Linked DNA regions of Homo sapiens: all the other regions are linked to region 1. The links are contacts of gene promoters, found by promoter capture Hi-C in blood cells and fetal thymus (Javierre and others, 2016). All regions are on one chromosome and are shown on one strand. The core of a region is centred on a gene start or on the middle of the fragment in contact, and the rest is flanking DNA. Distances in the headings are between cores, read along the strand shown.

Region 1 (2,750 bases), core at 138-2,637:
GTGCTACCTAATAGGAGTGATCAAGGTACTGCAGGTTGAAATGAAATAACGCTTGTGAAGTGTTGAGGCGTGTATGCCTGCAGAATCATAAGCACTCAATATGCGTTACGTGCTATATGCTACAAACTAAATATATCATACTAAAAAATGTATAGGTCTGCTAGATTTTTAGACAAAAAATATATGCATCTGAATATCCATCTTTTGTTACTCCCATATTCATTTTCTCATTTATTCCCACAAATCAGCCCTGGAGGATAGGCAGGGTGGAGATTTTCTCCTGTTTTTACTGAGGAAAAAGAGGCACTGGGAGGTTAAAATTAAAATGCTGATAAGCTGGTGTCCGGCAACAGGAGATGACTGGGCATATTAAAAAGAAAACCGGCCCGGCGCAGTGGCTCACGCCCCTAATCCCAGCACTTTGGGAGGCCGAGGCAGGCAGATCACTTGAGGCCAGGAGTTCGAGACCAGCCTGGCCCACATGGTGAAACCCTTTCTCTACCAAAAATACAAAAATTAGTGGGCGTGGTGGCATGTGCCTGTAGTCCCAGCTACTCGGGAGGCTGAGACACGAGAATCCCTTGAACCTGGGAGGCGGAGGTTTCAGTGAGCCAAGATTACCCCAGTGCACTCCAGCCTGGGTGACAGAGTGACACCCTGTGTCAAAAATAAAATAAAATAAAATAAAATAAAATAAAATAAAATAAAATAAAATAAAATAAAATAAAATAAGAAATCCAGCGGAGGGCAATGTTCCACCTCGAATCTCTGAGTGGAGAGCCAGAGGCCTTGGGCTGGGAGGTTTGATGGAGGCCTCTGGGTCCAGGGCGCCCCAGCCACGAGGACAGGCAGGAGGGCGGCGGTGGACACGCCCCGGGGCGCACGCTCGCTGGCGGCCGCCTGCCCGTGGGCAGAGGAGCGCACGAGGCCGGGCACGACGCTGGGTGGCGCTGCCGGGCCGCCCCGCGCTAGACCTGTTGCGTCCAGGGCGCAACTCCGGCAGGTTTAGGGTAAAGGGGCGCTCCGCTCTCTCCGCGCGCCCCCTGCAGCCCTGGACGCAGCACCTCCGTTTGGGACGCCCTACGCCCACCTTAACTTGAGGCTCCCATCCACGCAGCCTCTGCAAGCCTCACCGCAACCGTGCTAGGCGCGTCGGGTGGGGCGGGAATAAAGTTTTTCCAACCCAGTTTGGGGAGAGGGCTGGATGGGAAGGACCCTCCCTGCTGCAGACTTCATGGCAGGCTGCACTGTGTCCCCTCGGCTCCACGGCTGCCCCGGGGGCGCTGCTTTCGGTAGGTGCCAGCCCCCGTGCCAGCAGGATGGGCTGACCTGTGTACCGCCCCCTCCCACCCCCTTCCCCATTCCCATCCCCTCCCCCGCCTCCTGCGCGCTCCGGCCCCGGCGTCTCCGGCCCCGCCTGCGCTGGGGTCGCTGCAGTCCCCGCAGCTGCCCCGGGCTGCTTGCCCAGGCGCCCCGGCCTTATTCCAGCCTGGGGAGCGCCTCGGTGGGGAGCACGGGACAGCGAGGGAGGCCGAGGCGGGGGCCCTGGGCGCCCGATATCTCCGAACCGGGGAGGCGGCCCCGATTCCGAGAGCCGGAACGCAGGGAAAGGCAAGGACGGGGCGGCCGGCGGAGGGGCGGGCGCCGCTCATCAGCCACGCCAGTCACGTCTGGGGCCACCGGCTGCCTTTTTCTTCCTTTCCCCCTTTGCTTTCTTCCCCCTCCGCTGTTGGCGAGGGCAAAGTGGCCGTGGCGGCGCCATGCCCGGGCCGGAGTGAGTGCGCGCGGGCGAAAATGGCGTACATCCAGGTAGGGCTGAGGCTGGGGGCAAGGTCCGGGGTGCGGGTAGGGGGTGCCGCGCCCCCTCCGGCTGGGAGCGCGCGGAAGGGAGGGCCCACGGCTAGGCTCCCACAAACTTGCTTCGAGAAAAAGGGTGCCCGTGCGCGGGCAACCTGTGCAGCAACAGGGGTGCGCCCCGGGAGGAGAGACTGGGGACCCCCAAACCCCGGGATGGAGGGTCCTATGTGTACTCTGCAACGCGCGCCCTTGCCTCTTGGGGAGGGAATGGGGGGTGGGGCGGACTTTTCTTCTCCCCTGCCCCCTCCCTCTCCTTGGCACCCCACCCCAGGGGAGGGGCCGTGGGGAGGGCGGCCCGGGGCGCGCCAGCCACCCGGCCCGCCAGCTGCCGTTGCCGTGGTGACGGCTCCGGCTAATTGGCCGGCGGAGCGAGCCTGAGGCAGCTGTTCCGACCAGGAGGGACAAGGACGTCGTCTCTCCTGGGCACTGGGTGCTGAGGGGTGGGGGACACCCAGAGGCCAGAGGCGCGCTGGTGAAGAGAAGGGAGCCTGTTACTTTACTCCGCTGCATTGGGGTCTGGGAGATGTGGACCCTCTTCACCTTGAAGAAACGTCCCCCAAGAATCCTTGGGCTGAAATAATTCTGAAATAATTTCTAAGCAGCCTTTTTTGGGGGGAGGGGGCGGAGGGGTGGGCCGGGCTTCTTGGTGAAAAGACCTTTCTCCTCTGCAAGAAGGGAAGTGACCGCAGGTCAGCGCCAAGGTCAAGCAGGCAGACCCGCAGTGAGACCCGTTGAGCTGCTTGCTTCTGGCGCTGGCGCCTCTGAGCTGGGCAGAGAAGCTTACAGACTCCCACGTCCAGGGTGCATCTTGGCTCACATCTTGTCCCCTCAGCCACAGCTGGGGGTGCTGCTGGTCCTCCCATTCCCCTCTGGGTCACATATCCCCTCATCGT
Region 2 (2,750 bases), core at 104-2,603, 230 kb after region 1:
TGATTATTAAACTTTTGTATGTCATCCTGAAACTCCTCCTCCTCAGTGTAGAAGGGCTCCAGTGCTGTTTTAATTGCTGGCCACACAGACCAAGTGGAGAAGGAAATATCGTAACCCTCTTGTTTTGCTCCTTGTAAGTCTGATCCGACCTTGTCCCAATCTTTTACATTCATGGTTCCATATCCTGGGAACAAAGGAGAATACTTTTCTATGAGATGGAACAAAGATGTGAGATTTTGGGTACTCACAATTACCCCGCTGTGGCACAATAACTGCTGCACCAGGCTTAAGTAATTTGCAAACTTACTTTCAGCCTGACCCATATTTTCCTGAGGTTACCCTGGAATTCTCCGAGCACCCTACTTACCCGTAGAGCCTGAAGTGAAAACGTACTCGGGCAACCTTTGTCAGTCGTCCTCCACTTTCCACGCTCTGGCGTTTCTTCACTGGATTATTTGTAGAGATTATGGGGAGCCCCACGTTGGGTGCCAGATGTTGGGGAAACCAGCCCCACACCACCCAGTGGGTACCCCAAGTCTGACAGACACAAAGGAGTTAGAAAGAGACAGAATAAGCATTTAAAAGGCGGGTTCAGGGGACCAGAGCATCAGAGGCTTGCTCACGGCCCAGAGCTCTTGGGCTTCACGCAATTTATTGGCTTACAAGCTCTTTGTTCTTAGGGCAGATGGGAGGGGGAGGAAGGGATGAGGAACAGGATTAATCAGTGAAGGAGAACTCGTGAGTCATTCGATAAGATGTGTAGCAGTGGTGGTTTCTGTGAATTTCCTTGAGCAAAGATGTGTGTCTAAACTACTTAAGATCTTTAACTTACCAGGACTGAAACAGGTGGAAGTGGGTTTCAGGAGGAGCCAAGATGTTTGATTATACTCCATTGCTTCAAGGGAGTGTAATCTCCCTGACCAACCTGTGGAATGCCGCTGAGTGGTTATGCTCCCAGGGCATAAAGACATGAAGGCAATAAGGAGACTTTTCTCCTTAGAGGCTGCCCATGGCTTCCCATGGGTGTCTCACACAGAGGAGACCAACTCAACTGGCAACCCAGAAACTCTCTTTCCCACAGGGAAATTGTGGAAGAGCAGGTTAGAAGAGTAACCCTCAGGGGTCGATTTTAGTTTTGTTAAATTTGAGATGTACCCAATATTTTTTTTTTTACGATAGGGTCTTGTTCTGTTACCCAGGCTGGAATACAATGGCACAATCATAGCTCACTGCAGCCTCTGCCTCCCAGGCCCAAACAATCTTCCCACGTCAGCCTTCCAAGTAGCTGAGACCACAGATGCATGCCACCACGCATGGCTAATTTTTTGAGGAATTTTTTTTTGAGAGATGGGGTCTACCTAATGTTGCCCGGGCTGGACTTGAACTACTGGGCTCGAGCAACCTTCCCCTGCCTCAGCCTCCCAAAGTGCTGGGATTACAGGAGTGAGCTATTGCCCCAGACTCTGAGATTCACCCTACTTTTGAGTGGGGTGATGAATTCTGATCCTGCAAGATCACATTGAAAAGGATATGTTTAAAGGGATGGGAGGACTTTGTGATAGCATGTAAAATGGTCAGCACAGTTATTACACGGAACTAAATTTCTTTTTATTTAACAAGCACTTACACACTTTTATGTGTGGCAGGCACTATAGGTATAACTCTTTATATAAGCTACTCATTAAATCCCCATTAAAGCCCAAAATGATAGGTCCTATTGTTGCAGTATTTTTCTTTAGTTCAGCTAAAGATGGGGTTTTTTGTCTCACAGCCACAAAAATTCAGGCTCACAGACAATTCGAATGGTGAGTAAGACAGGGTTTTATTGGGTGGAAAGGGAAGAAAAGGGGGAAACAGGGACTCTTGCTAGGTCAGAGTCCCTGCTAGAGCACTTCCCACCTGGCCATTCAAATCCCAGATTCCACACAGAAAGAGGAGGGGCCAGGCTCCTCCCAGCTGCAAAGTCACAAACTTGTGTGGCTCTTTCCAGTGAGCAGGCCAGTTGGAGAGGTTGGAGGTTCTCTGGGGATCCCCCTCCCACCTAGCTGTCTCATTCCCACCTCTAAAAAAGTACATCTAACTGCCATTAGATTAAGGAAAAGGACAAAGACTGATCTTAACTGCTTCCTGCTGACAGGGGATGCTGTTTTGGGGAAATGACAGTCAGAGCTCCCTCAGAGGTCTATCTAAGGGTTCCCAGCAGAAGGGACCATCATCCCAGGCTCCAGTTATATGACTGTTTGGAGTTTGATGGTCTGAAGGCAAGAACAGACAAACTAGGTTATTAGAAAACATGTATCAAAACGAAACAAGGGGAAGGGGAAGGACAGCTCAAAAATTTCAAAGCCTTTTATCAGTTTGCACAGGGAGAGGGAGACCAAAAGCCTGACTGGCAAAAAAACTTTACCTTTTGCCAGCATGTTGGGCTTCTGGGTTCCCTTCCCTTGAGGCCAATCCTAAGCCCACCAGTTTAAGGTTTGGGAAATTAACTCTTTCCAGTTTGGAGGATGCATCTGAGGGGAGTGTCCCATACTATGGAGACACAATTACCTATCAGTGATGAGAGAACAGAGGAGGAGAAAGGAAAAAGAAGGCGTTTTTCAAAGGAGTCCGGGGGCTTCAGGATGCATTTGAAAGGGGTACAGACTGAAGATGAATGGCTATCCATCTAGAAAGAGGGGAGAAGTCACCCCTGGTTCCCTTCTCTTCCTAGCAGATACCTGGGGTACATGAAGGAGAGAGGGAAGAGC
Region 3 (2,750 bases), core at 92-2,591, 180 kb after region 1:
TCCCCAGCTAAGAGCCATGCAGACGGTGGCAGCAGGCTGGCAGGACCTAGGGGCTCCCTGCCTGGTCTGGGAGAGCCCAGACTGAGATGCGATGCGATAAGATATTGATTAGCAAAGTGGCTGGGGGTTGGAGAAGGTCCAGGTTGCAGCCTGAACTGGATTAAGGGATGGAACAGCAGGTGCCAAACCTCAAGGATGGTGCTAAAACATCCCTGGAAATGTAACCAGATAGAGAAAAGTGTCATTATTTTTTACAAAGACTTTTTTTTTACAAAGATTAACAGGGCTCTTACCATGTATATGAATGATGTAATCTTCATTAACAATTCTACAAGGTAGGTACTATTTGTTATTGCCAAAGTACTGAGGCACAAAGTGCTAGTAACTTGCTCAAGGTCACCACCTGGTAGGTGATGGGGCCAGGTTTTTAACCCTGACCGCCAGACTCAATAGGATACCTCAACATTAGCCTGTCCAGGTGCCCACACATCTTAGCCGACTCTGCTGAGCTGTCAGAATATGCCTAGAAAGAACACACATATATCCCGTCTTGGTTCAAGGTGATAGAATCTTTCAGATTTGTCAACCTTACAAACCTCATCGGTAAAGTGGGAATACTGATAATACCCACAAATAAGTTTTAAGATATATAAAGGTTTAAGACACTAAGTATTAATAATGCTATTTAGAATCATTATAACAGAAAGGCCGCCAGTCCACTTCAATTTGACCATAACTCTAGCAGATGGACATTAAGATTCTACCAAATGGGCCAGGCGTGGTGGCTCACGCCTGTAATCCCAGCACTTTGGGAGGCCGAGGCGGATGGATCACAAGGTCAGGAGATGGAGACCATCCTGGCTAACACGGTGAAACTCCGTCTCAACTTAAAATACAAAAAATTAGCCAGGTGTGGTGGCACGCATATGTAGTCCCAGCTACTCAGGAGGCTGAGGCAGGAGAATTGCTTGAACCTGGGAGGTGGAGGTTGCAGTGAGCCGAATTCGTGCCACTGCACTCCAGCCTAGGCAACAGAGCGAGACTCCATCTCGAAAAAAAAAAAGAAAGAAAGAAAAGAAAAGAAAAAAGATTCTACCAAATGGACTTCTTTTCACCAAATCCTCTAACAAAGCAAATAGCAATAGAGCGGACATCGATTTCCTTTTTCCTTTTCCCTCATTGTCTAAAAGCTGTGGTGGATGGAATTGACCTAAATCTCAAATCCAAGGGTGGGACTTGATGGGTCCAAGCTTATCAGGGTATTTCCATCAGACTTGCCCTTGACTGGTTCAAGTAACCCAGGCCTAGCCTAAGCGAATCAGCTCAGTGATCCACGATTAGGAGAATTGGTTTAAGACTGGTCCAATCAACGGAGTTAGGATTTGTATTCATCAATTAAGGGCAGTGACTCGCCCTCCTCAGATATGAATAAAGAAGCTTGTAACCTTGTTTGTTGTTGATAGCTACCTTAAAGCCCTGGAGAAAGCCAGTTTGTGGATGAATCCAACTTACGGAGAAGGCAGTGCCAGAAGAACTGCAGTGAAACAGAGCTGGAATCTTGATCAAACCACACCAGAAGTGTCTCTGAAGCTGGCTTTTATTGTTTGACCTGGTTTGAGTTGGTTTCCTGTTACTTGCAACCAAAAGAATCACAATTGATAGACTAAACCATAGATAGCTTAAAAAATTATTGTGCAAAATTATATTAGTTCTTTGAGAAATTGGGAGAAAGGCAGGGGAGACAGAGTTTAGACAGAAAGTTGAGGTTTTTTGTTTTTGTGAGACAGGGTCTCACTCCAGTTGCTCAGGCTGGAGTGCAATGGTGCTATCACAGCTCACTGCAGCCTCAACTTCCTGGGCTCAAGCAATCCTCCCACCTCAGCCTCCCAAGTAGCTGGGACTACAGGCACGCACCACCACACCTGGCTAATTTTTTGTATTTTTAGTAGAGACAGGTTTTCACCATGTTGCCCAGGCTGGTCTTGAACTCCTGAACTCAAGCAATCTGCCTGCCTCAGCCACCCAAACTGTTGGGATTATAGGCATGAGCCACTGAGCCCAGCCAACAGAAAGTCTTTTACTCACCCACTAGGATGGCTATAATTTTTTTAAAGGACAAGAACAAGTATTGACAAGGGTGTGGAAATTGGAGCCCCCATATGCTGCTGGTAGGAATGCAAAATTATGCAGGCACTGTGGGACTGTCACCGTGTGGCAGTTCCTCAATAAGTTAAGCACAGAATTACCATATATGCCAAAAAAATTGAAAACATGGATTTAAACAAAAACTTATCCACAAATGTTCATAGCCAGAAGGTGAAAACAACCCAAATATCCATAAACTGATGAATGGATAATCAAAATGAGAGATACCTATGCCTTGCAATATGCGTTAATATCATTATGCAATAATATTCCTTCTTGGCCGGGCGCGGTGGCTCACGCCTGTAATGCCAGCACTTTGGGAGGTCAAGGCGAGCAGATCACTTGAAGTCAGCAGTTCAAGACCAGCCTGACCAACGTGGTGAAGCCCCATCTCTACTAAAAATACAAAAATTAGCTGGGTGTGGTGGCACACGCCTGTAGTCCCAGCTACTTGGGAGGCTGAGGCAGGAGAATGGCTTGAACCCAGGAGGCAGGGGTTGCTGTGAGCCGAGATCGCACCACTGCACTCCAGCCTGGGCGACAGAGCAAGGCTCCGTCTCAGAAATAATAATAATAATAATAAGATTCCTTCTTATTAAAAAGGA
Region 4 (2,750 bases), core at 105-2,604, 160 kb after region 1:
TGAAATTGACTGAAATTAACCACAATTTACCATCCAAGCCTTCTCTTGGAAGTTGCAATCCTTCAAATAGATGCCAGTGTTATAAAATAGTTACATCAAATACAAATATATATATATATATAATATATATATATAGAGAGAGAGAGAGAGAGATTGAGAGAGAGGGAGAGACAGAGAGACAGGAGAGAGAGAGAGAGAGAGAGAGAGACAGAGAGACAGGAGAGAGAGAGAGAGTGTGGGCCGGTCTCAAACTCCTGAGCTCAAGTGATTCACCCACCTCGGCCTCTAAAAGTGCTGGCATTGCAGGTGTGAGCCATTGTGCTCAGCCAAAAATAGTTACATCAAATAGATTCTGCCAGTGCAATTGTTATTTAGGTAGGGAGACGGATTCCTGATGTTTCCTGCTCTGCCATCTTCCCAGAATCCTCCTCTAATTATTTTTAAATCCACTAAGTCCACTAAATTCATTTCCCAACCCACTAATGGTTTGCAACCTGCAGCCTGAAAAATTACTGGACTAAACTATGCCAAATTGTCAGCACTTAAAAATTTTCTAAGCACCTACTATGAGTCAGCTGTGAAATCTGGCTGATGGTCTCAAGAGAAATGAGACAGGGCCCCTGGCTTCAGAGATTTTGCATTCTAGGACAGGAGTGTGGAAGAGACAGAGAAAGAGATGACTCGTCATTTGAGCATCTATGATATACCAAACTCTTTGCCAGGCACTTACACATCTGATGTCACTGGTTTTCAGACCAATTCTATGAATTAGGTCAGTGTTCCTCAAACTCTTATGTGCATAAGAGTCACCTGGGGATCTTGTGAAAATGCAGATTCCTGTTCAGCAGGTCTGGACCAGGGCCTGAGAGCCTGCATTTCTAAGAAGTTCCCAGGTGATCCCTATGCTGCTGGTCTAGGGAACACATTTTGAGTGACTAGGAGTCATGTGTTTTAAGACTTGTTTTTGTAATCCAGGTGCAGTGACACTCACCTGTAGTCCCAGCTACTCAGGAGGCTGAAGCAGGAGCATCACTTGAGCCCAGAAGTTTGAGTCGAGCCTAGGCAACATAGAGAGACCTCATCTCTTTAAAAAAATGTTTTTAATAAGAAAATAAAAATAAAACTATTTATTGACTCATTCCTACATAACAAGCACCATACTCGGCACTCAGAATGTAATAATGAAGCCACAACTTGAACGCAGAGCTCTCTGATTTCAAACTTATGCTCATACCCAAAGAAGTGGGAACAATTGTTCTCAATACACAGGAACGGAAACAATAGGAGATGGCGCTGGGAGGGAGGGTAGAGACCAGGTCAGGACCAGTCTCCAGGGCCAGGCTGGGGGACTGGTGGGCACTTTAGCTGTCATGGAGGGCATGATTTGATGCAGTCTGACTGGTGGTCAGGGTAAGCTGATGCCGCCCTTCTGAGTTCCTTGAGGCCAAAAAGCCTATGAGTCACACGGCAAGTCACTTCCAATACATGCCCCATGAGGCAGCACTTTCCGCAGTAGCCTTGAACTATTCGCTCTGTAGCTTCCAAATGAGTCTTTGGGGGCAGGTTTGCCAAATAGCACAGCGGGTCCAACCCACCAAAGGCCTCCATAGCCTGTGATCTGTCAGTCTCAGATTCTTGCCCCTCAGCAAGACACTTGGCTTAACAATCAAAGCCACCGTGGCTCTGAAATGCTCAAATATTTATTCCACTCACTGTTTGCAATTTGCTTTGTGTGATTTCTAAAGCTGGAGTGCTTCCAACCACAAGGAACAGCTTGGCAAGACCACTGCTGACTGCAAAGAGACTCAGTGCCCTTCAGCAGATACAAATGAGCACCAACCTTGTTCCATTTCCTGCAATAGGCATTAGGAGCATGGGGAGATTTGAAAATGTGATACAGAGGCCCCAATGTCATTATATGGGCTGTGTGTCCCTCTCTGCTCAGAAGTGGCTCAGAGAAAATCCAAATGGCCAGTAACCATGGCCAGCTCCATAATAAGATACAGGGAACCAAAACATCAGCAGGATGACATGATTCTTCCTTCAGAAATGTAAAAGATAGAAAACATTTGGTGTTGGAGGTGTTGTAGTGAAATAGACACCTTCATATACTGTTATTGGGAAGGCTGATTTGAGAAACTTTGGAAGCAATTTGGGAGTTTTTGTTGGGAGTCTGGACATGTTCAATGGTTTCTGACCCAATAATTTTACTTCCAAGAGCCTATCACTAAAGAGACAAACACAGGACTTGATGTAAGAATTGAGAGCTCTGTGTTCTGGGCACACATGCCTTGGAACTCTTACGGCAAGTTGTGAAGGAATCAATAGCTTGTGCGTAGTTCTCCATAGGGTATGGGACAGATCTAAAGAAATGTGCTTCAAGATACAGGTCATAAAGACCTTCCTGATAAAACAGGTTGCAGTAAAGAAGCTGGCAAAAACCAAGATAGTGACGAGAGTGACCTCTGGTCATCCTCACTGCTACACCCCCACCAGTGTCACGACAGTTGACAGATGTCACGGCAACATCAGGAAGTTACCCTACATGGTCTAAAAAGGGGAGGAACCCTCAGTTCTGGGAATTGCCCACCCCTTTCCCAGAAAACTGATTAATAATCCACCCCTTATTTAGCATATAATCAAGAAATAATCATAAACATGGGTAACCAGCCCTCAGGGCTGCTCTGCCTATGGAGCAGCCATTCTCTTATTCCTTTACTTTCTTAATAAACTTGCTTTCACTTTAAAAA
Region 5 (2,750 bases), core at 99-2,598, 140 kb after region 1:
GCAGTTTGAATGGACTGATGGCTCATCCTATGACTACAGCTACTGGGATGGCAGCCAGCCAGATGATGGCGTCCACGCGGACCCAGAAGAAGAGGACTGCGTGCAGATATGGTACAGGCCTACCAGTGGTGGGTACCCCTGAGACCAAGGCTCTTGCAGGGGAGCCCAGGAGGTGTCACAGGTGGGGAGAGCGGAGAAGGGCCTTGGGGGAAGAGGAGCACCTGATGGCCTGAGACTGGCAAATTGTTCAGCACCTTGGAGAGCGGTGGAGGTCACTAGGGTGTCGGGGGCATGGCCATTCGCCACAATGGATATGCTTTAAACAACATTAAATGGGGTTTGGTTGACACATAAACTCCAACTTGAATGAAAAGATGTTATAAATAGAAGCATGGGGGGAATAAAGACTTGTATAGAGAGTAGTCAAGGGGTGATGCTTCCATGTCAACTCAACAACACATCAAAGTGCAAGCCCCTTCCACAGACTCATGCTCCTGAAGCAAGCCACATGTGTGGTGGCATGAGGGTGTGGGTAGTGAGAAGAGTATAGACTTGAATTCAAATTCTGGCCCTGTTTCTTTCTAGTTCTGTGTCATTGCAGAGAATTACTTATCCTCTCTGAGATTCTGTTTCTTCTTCTATAAAATGGGCTTAATAATTTGTCCTACCTACAAGACTGCTGTGAGGATTAAAGGAGGCACAGTTGATATAGCACCGTGGCAAGAGCATGGACTCGGGAGTTGACTGCCCTTGTGTGAACCCCCGCTCCATCCTTAATGTGTAGCCCAAAGAGAATGCCTTAACCTCTTGGTGCCTCAGATTCTTTGTCTTCAAAATGTGGCTAATGATACTTAACTCACAGGTTAATGTGAATAAAAAAAGAAGATAGTGCTCATAGAATAGCTGCCATGCTCAGTATTCAGTATTAGCAATCACCAGCATCATCATGAATCATCACTTTCACACCAATGTTAAGAAATAGAAACAATATTCCCACTTTGCTGATGAGGAAAACGAGGCTCAGAGAAGTTCAGCAACTTGTTCAAGGTCACACAGCAAGCTAAGTAGTGGAGCTGGGTTTCAAATCTAGATCTACAGAACTCCAGACCCAGACACTTAATTGTTATTCCCTCTTTGCTCTTTTTTCTTTTCCTAATTAGGGGAGGGAGGTAGAGAACAGCTTATTTTCCTGGGAGCCCTCCTGGAGCCCTGGGTAGCCAGAGTTGGGCCAAGCCTCTGGCTGAAGTTCATCCTCCCATCCAAGGTGACAAGCCAGAATCAGCTTTATGCAAGAGTAAGGCTGGACAGCAGGCTTGTCAAGTATCAGCAAGAAAGGGCTGCCAGCATAGACACAAGGCCTATTGGAGATGGCTTTTACTTCAGAGGAGTGGTGGGGTTACTTTTATCTTGGCGGATGGATTTTCACCCAGATTCTCTGCTTCTTTCCATCACAGCTCTGAGGTCATGGAATGATAACACCTGCAGCCGGAAGTTCCCCTTTGTCTGCAAAATCCCATCTCTGACCATTCATTGATCCTGTCTTGTCCTACTGGTGTGAGCTCAACTCTAGTATCATCTTGTAGCTGTAACCAGTGTAGAATTGACATTGAATACATGTAAAACATACATAGGAAGTAAATCTCTTGGACAGAGATTTTAAACAAGCAGATCTTAATTATACAGGGTGGTCACTTGGCCAAGTGTCAGGAAAGCCAGCTCAAATTGGCTTAATTTTTTAAAGTGTTTTTTTTTTTAAATTGACCCAAGTAACAAAAATCCAGGGGTTGTTCTGATTCAGAGTTGAATCTCACTGGCCTGGCTCGGGTCACGTGCCCATCCCTGAAGCAATCACTTTGGCATATGCTAAGTGGCTAGCTCCTGCTTAGCTGTACATCTTTGGACAAAATGGGGTGGAAGTCACATTATCAGAGGCGCTGGGAGTGGGGGAAAATGCGGGGGGGTGTTGGTCAAAGCATACAAACTTTTGGAAATAAGATTAATAAGTTTGGGAGGCTTAATGTACAGCGTGATGACTATAGTTAATAATAATGTATTGTATTCCTGAAATTTGCTACGAGAGTAATTTTTTTTTTTGAGACAGAGTCTCACTCTGTTGCCCAGGCTGAAGTGCAATGATGCAATCACAGCTCACTGCAGCCTCAACCTCCTGGGCTCAGGTGATCCTTCCACCTCCAGTCCCCAGAGTAGGTGGGACTACAGGACGCTACAGGCGCATGCCACCACATCTAGCTAACTTTTGTATTTTTTTTTTTAAATAGAGACGAGGTTTCATCATGTCATCCAAGCTGGTTTCGAACTCCTGGGCTCAAGGGATCCACCCACCTCAGCCTCCCAAAGTACTGGGATTACAGGCATGAGCCACTGCGCCTAGCCAAGAATACATCTTAAATATTCCCGTCAACACATGGGCTCAAAGATGAGGCTGGTTCTTCAAAGGAAAACAAAAAGATTACCAAACTCATAAATTGCTGGTGGGAATGTAAAATAGTGAAGCCACTGTGGAAAAGTTTGGCAGTTCCTCAAAAAGTTAAACATAGAATTACATCTAAGCCAGCAATTCCACTCCTAGATCTCGACCTAAGAGAATCGGAAACAGGTATTTAAATATAAGTGGTCGGCCAGGTGTAGTGGCTCATGCCTGTAATCCCAGCACTTTGGGAAGCTGAGGAGAGAGGATCACTTGAGCCCAGGAGTTGAAGATCAGCCTGGGCAACATAGTAAGACCCCAT

Evidence for each region. The method cuts DNA at HindIII sites, captures the fragments that hold promoters and counts their contacts. A CHiCAGO score of 5 or more calls a contact.
Region 2: a fragment that was not itself captured here is called in contact with the fragment with the promoter of SYT17 in region 1 in 3 of 17 cell types (M1 macrophages, M0 macrophages and naive B cells); the score reaches 6.6 in M1 macrophages.
Region 3: a fragment that was not itself captured here is called in contact with the fragment with the promoter of SYT17 in region 1 in 7 of 17 cell types (M1 macrophages, M0 macrophages, naive B cells and 4 more); the score reaches 21.0 in M1 macrophages.
Region 4: a fragment that was not itself captured here is called in contact with the fragment with the promoter of SYT17 in region 1 in 5 of 17 cell types (M1 macrophages, M2 macrophages, monocytes and 2 more); the score reaches 10.3 in M1 macrophages.
Region 5: a fragment that was not itself captured here is called in contact with the fragment with the promoter of SYT17 in region 1 in 4 of 17 cell types (M1 macrophages, M0 macrophages, M2 macrophages and 1 more); the score reaches 6.0 in M1 macrophages.

The regions. Positions count from the first base shown.
Region 1 is chr16:19,166,853-19,169,602 of GRCh38, forward strand. SYT17 (synaptotagmin 17) reads left to right here and starts at 1,388. Exons shown (of 8, transcript NM_016524.4): 1 at 1,388-1,809. The coding sequence starts at 1,795. RefSeq lists a silencer at 784-1,033 and an enhancer at 1,225-1,972. The HindIII fragment of the contact is 5,386 bases long and covers 1-2,634 here.
Region 2 is chr16:19,401,073-19,403,822 of GRCh38, forward strand. No RefSeq gene overlaps it. Among named protein-coding and RNA genes, the nearest start is that of TMC5, 15 kb to the right of the region's middle. The HindIII fragment of the contact is 3,241 bases long and covers 1-2,750 here.
Region 3 is chr16:19,349,139-19,351,888 of GRCh38, forward strand. No RefSeq gene overlaps it. Among named protein-coding and RNA genes, the nearest start is that of LINC02858, 16 kb to the left of the region's middle. The HindIII fragment of the contact is 187 bases long and covers 1,249-1,435 here.
Region 4 is chr16:19,329,462-19,332,211 of GRCh38, forward strand. No RefSeq gene overlaps it. Among named protein-coding and RNA genes, the nearest start is that of LINC02858, 3.3 kb to the right of the region's middle. The HindIII fragment of the contact is 9,542 bases long and covers 1-2,750 here.
Region 5 is chr16:19,307,550-19,310,299 of GRCh38, forward strand. CLEC19A (C-type lectin domain containing 19A) reads left to right here. Exons shown (of 5, transcript NM_001256720.2): 4 at 1-128; 5 at 1,455-2,750. The coding sequence ends at 1,534. Among named protein-coding and RNA genes, the nearest start is that of CLEC19A, 23 kb to the left of the region's middle. The HindIII fragment of the contact is 9,354 bases long and covers 1-2,750 here.